2 separate regions of the Homo sapiens genome follow, and region 1 is linked to region 2. The links are contacts of gene promoters, found by promoter capture Hi-C in human tissues and cell types (Jung and others, 2019). All regions are on one chromosome and are shown on one strand. Each heading gives the region's core, a stretch centred on a gene start or on the middle of the fragment in contact. The rest is flanking DNA. Distances are from core to core; before and after follow the strand shown. Region 1 overlaps SNTB2 (syntrophin beta 2). Region 2 holds the start of ESRP2 (epithelial splicing regulatory protein 2).

Region 1 (2,700 bases), core at 6-2,505, 960 kb before region 2:
TAATAATCTTTGAAGAGACAATACAGAATCCATAGTACTCAAAAAAATTATCTACACTACTAGTGGTTTTCTAAAATGTTGCCATCCCTTACTGCAATGAAAACAGAGCTAACAATGTAAATACTTTTACTGGCCAACAATTACAGCAAAATGAGGCAAATCAAAGACATTTAGTGTTCAGTAAAACAGATTTTGTTTCATTTGGGCAAAGATTTACTTGTAAAGATGAATATACTTTGGAGAATGCTACTTTGTTAAAACTGGTGTTTTCCAAAAGTAAAATAACATAGTAATATATCAAAAGTAAAAGCAGTAACAAAAAAGTTTGGCTAGAATAATTACAAAAGAAAAATTAATTTTTACATTACAAAACAGTTTGCAGATAATGAATACAATTATTACAAGATATTTCAGAAGTCAGTTATATTACTAATAAAATATTTAAACTATTTTTAAAAAGGGGTACAGAGCCTTGAAAATGGGCTATTTCATCAAATCTGTTTGCTGAAGTTTGAACATCACTGCTTGTTCCAGTCTTTGCTCTCTAGACATGCCTTTCCCCTCTAAACATGCCCTCCATCCTTCCCACCACCCACACCTATTCCATGTCCCACCCTTCTCTCACTTGACCCAAAATACATTCCTACTACTTGCTCACTTATTCCAAGTTCTCTCAGCATTTGTCTACCACTTATAATGTATGAAATACTTTGGATTCACTTATGTGCAGTTTATTAGTATTTACAAACCCATTTTGGGTACTTCTTAAAAGTAAAATCTTTGGGGCTTACATATTCTATTTCTCTCAGAGTGTCTAACAGAGTGTAGTTATTCAATATGAGTTGATTAATTACATACAGCTTTAGGTCCAGCATGAAAAAAAAAAATGAGGAAAAGACTGAGAGACATTAACTGGATAACCTCCAGATAGATGCAACAACACAGAATCCAAAGCACAATTTTCCTGAAAATTAAGCCAATCATAACAATAAATCCTGTCTTTAGACTTGCTAGCTTCTTAACCCAAACTGATCCACCAGAGAGGCAGTCTATTATAATGGTTAATATCAAAGGCTGTGTAGTTTGATAAATCTGAGTAACTAATCTTGCCTCTATCACCTACAAATTCTATAACCTTGCACTGACTGTTTAATCTTCCAGGACTCAATTTATTTATATTTTATATGGGGATGATGCCACCTGACTCACAGGGCTGTTAAAAGAATAAGTTGTGGCCAGGTGCGGTGGCTCACGCCTGTAATCCCAGGACTTTGGGAGGCCAAGGTGGGCAGATCACAAGGTCAGGAGTTCGAGACCAGCCTGACCAATATGGTGAAACTCCATCTCTACTAAAAATACAAAAATTAGCCGGGCATGGTAGCGCGTGTCTGTAATCCCAGCTACTCAGGAGGCTGAGGCAGGAGAATCGCTTGAACCCAGGAGGCAGAGGTTGCAGTGAGCCGAGATCACACCACTACACTCCAGCCTGGGTGACAGGGCCAAACCCCATCTCAAAAAAAAAAAAAAAAGAAAAAGAAAAGAAAAACAAAGTTGTGATCATAAAGAGCTTAGCAGAGTAAGCTCTCCATAAGTGTCATTATTATCTATTTTGATTCCTTTTGTTTTTAAAAATGTACAACTTAGCCACTTTTGTTTTTTCTCTTTTTGAGACAGGGTCTTGCTCCATTGCCCAAGCTGGAGTATAGTGGCTCAAACATGGCTCACTGCAGCCTCAATCTCCCGAGCTCAAGTGATCCTCCCACCTCAGCCTCCCAAGTAGCTGGGACCACAGGCACTCGCCACCTCACCTGGCTAATTTTTTACATGTTTTGTAGAGACAGGGTCTCGCCATGTTGTGCAGGCTGGTCTTGAACTACTAGGCTGAAGTGATTCCACCTGGACCTCCCAAAGTGCTGGGATTACAGGTGTGAGCCAACATGCCCGGCCAAAATTATTTTAAGCCCTATAGCCTGTTATAGTGTACATAAGTTAACCTAGCAACCACCCCACTCCAGATTTTATAGTCTGGTGAGGCTGCCAACCTCAATACACAAGGGATGGGCACGTGACACAGGTCTAGATTGCAGTCTCCATCATTTTGGTAATAGTGATAGGTCCGAGGAACTGGCAAAGCAGAACTATTGGAGTCCTTCCTATCTCCAAACTGATAATGTGAGTGGTAAAAGAACCCTCCAGTTTTTCTTACAGGGGTTAGTTATTAAGTTAAGGCAATATGTTCCTAGAGCTGCAGGCACCATCTTAGCTGACTATACAGAATTAGACCCTCCACAGCAGGAGATGTTGCAGCCAAGATAATTTGAGCCTTTGGATCCCACTGAACCTAAACCTAGATCCACCCCCGGTCTCAGGAGTTACATAAGGCAATACATTCCACTTCTGCTTAAATTAGTTGGTTTTGGGTTTCTGCAACCAAAATAATTCTTACTAAAAAAAAAAAAAAATGCAAACCAGGAACAGTAATTAGTTCATGCCTGTAATCCCAACTACTCCAGAGGTTAAGGCAAGAGGATCACCTGAGCCCAAGAGTTCAGGGCTGCAGTAAGCAATGATCATGCCATTGTACTCCAACCTGGGCAACAGAGTGAAACCCTGTCTCTAAAAAAAAATAATAACAACAAATAGATACTTTTTAAAAATTAAAAATAAATCATATACGTCTATTTTGATAAACAAAGATTT
Region 2 (2,700 bases), core at 183-2,682:
AAAGTAAAGTGCTACTCGCTCGAACCCGCCGGGCGAAGGAAGCACTTCCCATGCTCTCCCTGTCGCCGTGTCCGGGCGCGAGTCATTTCCGTCCCGGGCGCCTGTTTCTTTAGCTGCCAAGTGGAGCTACGCTGAGCTCTCTCCCCCCGGGCCTCGCCCCTTTCCCGGGCATGAGCTCTGGTGATGCGCCCGGGTGCCCCGCTCTCTCCATTGTCCAGGGGCCGGGCCGCAGCACCCTCCTTGTCCGAAAGCGCGTGGTGCGGCTCCCGTCTCAGTCTCGAGTCGGGCTAGGCAACCGCGTGACTCAGTTCCCGCCACGCTGGAGCCCCCTCCTTCCTGCTGGATTATTCAGTTTCTCAGTCACTTATTCAGTTTCTCAGTCACCTCCCTGGGAGAGTTTGGGAAAGTAAGGAACGGCCGGGAAACGCGCCATAAAGGAGCCTCACCAAGCTCCACTGGGCAAAGGGAGGAATGGGAGCCCCAAATGCGGGGCTGTCAATTGGGTTGTAGGTGCGGGATGGAAAAGGGAGGATCTGCAGCCCGCATGCGCGCACACACGCTCAACGCTAGCCCCCCATCGGCCAGAGCGCTCGCAATCTCCAGGCAGCTTCTCCACCGTCCAGAAAGGGACGAAAGCAGGCAGGCCCCCACACGTGGGGTAGGAGTGAGGCTCCAGGCCCGTTCTACCCCTCTCAGCCTCGTCTAGGGTGCAGCTCTCTGCGATTTGGGGGGTTCCTTTCCCCAGCATTGAGGCCTGCCCACTCCCAACCCACAACGACCGCGCTCTGGCACTTCTCAGTGCCAGGCTAGCGCTCGGCCCTAGCATCTGCGTGGACAAGCCCTTCCCTGTGATCCCTGGTGACCACCCCACAGCTCTAACAACGCTGATGTTCCCGCCGCCCTCCCCTTTCCCAGGTGACTTCTGGTGATCCCCCTACAGGGTGATACCCGGCAACTCTCACCGCCCCCTTGACCCTTTGACTTCCATCAACCCCAGACCTGCCGTGTTGACCCCCACAGCCCCTAGACTGCCTCCTGGTGACTTCCATACTGGAGAAGGCCTCTGTCTTGCACGCTCCTTTGCAGAGGCCTGACGACCCCTGGGGAAGAGTGGGGGGAGAGCGGAAGAATGGGTTAGCCCCCAAAATCAGGCAGGACCAGCCCTGGAAGTAGGAATCCGGATCCTAAGCGTGCGCCCAGGCCGGGAGCGTGAGCTCTTGCGTCCTGGGTTGAGTTCTGGCGGCCCTCCCCCAAGGTTCCCGGAGCCGCCCCGGTCACGTGGCCGGCGGGGCCGGCAGGTAACTCGCCTGGAGAGGGCGTGGGCCGGTAGCCGCCCCGCCCCGCGGGGCGCCACGGGCGGGTCTTGGCAGCGCCCACTGAGCCAGCCGGGCCGCAGGTGCCGCCCCCGATACACGGTGTCCCGCCCAAGCTGATCCGCGTCTGCGGTCGGTCGGTGCGTGCGTGCGCCTCGTCGGTCCGCGTGTCTGGCCGAGAGCCCCCTTCCTCTGCGGCCATGACTCCGCCGCCGCCGCCGCCCCCTCCCCCGGGCCCTGACCCCGCGGCCGACCCCGCCGCGGACCCCTGCCCCTGGCCCGGATCACTGGTCGTCCTCTTCGGGGCTACGGCGGGTGCGCTGGGACGGGACCTGGGCTCGGACGAGACCGACTTAATCCTCCTAGTTTGGCAAGTGGTTGAGCCGCGGAGCCGCCAGGTAGGGTGGAAAAGAGGCGGTGAGGTCCCCAGGGAGCTTCCGGGGTCGAGGGGCGCGGCTGATCGGTTTCCCCCGCCGCTCACAGGTGGGGACGCTGCACAAATCGCTGGTTCGTGCCGAGGCGGCCGCACTGAGTACGCAGTGCCGCGAGGCGAGCGGCCTGAGCGCCGACAGCCTGGCGCGGGCAGAGCCGCTGGACAAGGTGCTGCAGCAGGTGAGCGCCGGGGTGGGTGGCGGCATGGCCTGGACGTGAGGACATTTCTGGGCGGGATTGGCGGCCGGAGGCTAGGCCTGGCGTGCCGCAACCAACCGGTCCAGGCGGCAGGACTGGGCTCTTGTTTGAAACTTTGAGCGACTCTCGCGTGTGCGTGCCCCTTTCATCCGCGCGTGCCAGCCATTCCCCTGGGCTCCTTACTTTTCAACCATTGCAGGAACCTACTCCTACCGAAGGGATCGGGACGCAGGCTTTGGGATCCATCCCCAGTTCCCGCCCGGGGAGCGAGGCCGAGACGCCTTTGGGAGACCTGCTGGGTCAGGTCTCCCTGAGCCGCAGCCGGAAGCGAAAGGGGTCGAGGGGCCCATATAGGTCACCTGTCCTTGCGGCCCGCGTCTTCGGCCTGCTTGGGAGCTGCTGGAGCGGAGGCGTAGGGCGGTGTCGGCCCTAGAGGTAGACGCCGCCAGGTGTAAACTGCTCGTCTAGGCCTGTCCCGGCCGGCTGGCCAGGCGTGGGCGCTGTCCCGGCCTGGCCTGGGGGACTATCTGCCTGCTGAGTGCAAAGGCCTGGGGTGCCTCCTGCCCTAGCTGAAGTGGGAGGTGGTTTCCATTGCTGTTTTCTTTTCCTTATCTTCACTACGGCGCTCATTCTATGTCTGACTCTTGAGTGTAATTAGTGTAAGTCCTTTTTATACACTCACGTTCTTTCATCTTCCAACAACTCTTGTGGTTCCTGATGAGGAGGCACCACGATGATGATTCCTTGTCTGTTCCAG

Evidence for each region. Contacts are between HindIII fragments. The study calls those that stand out against the background at their distance.
Region 1: a fragment that was not itself captured here is called in contact with the fragment with the promoter of ESRP2 in region 2 in 1 of the 25 tissues and cell types used here (pancreas).

The regions. Positions count from the first base shown.
Region 1 is chr16:69,195,206-69,197,905 of GRCh38, reverse strand. The region is part of intron 1 of SNTB2 (syntrophin beta 2); the gene reads right to left. Among named protein-coding and RNA genes, the nearest start is that of SNTB2, 9.4 kb to the right of the region's middle. The HindIII fragment of the contact is 9,382 bases long and covers 1-2,700 here.
Region 2 is chr16:68,234,859-68,237,558 of GRCh38, reverse strand. It overlaps ESRP2 (epithelial splicing regulatory protein 2), which reads left to right and starts at 1,432. Exons shown (of 15, transcript NM_024939.3): 1 at 1,432-1,711; 2 at 1,797-1,925. The coding sequence starts at 1,514. RefSeq lists enhancers at 1-56, 57-644, 645-1,233 and a silencer at 1,255-1,484. The HindIII fragment of the contact is 21,026 bases long and covers 1-2,700 here.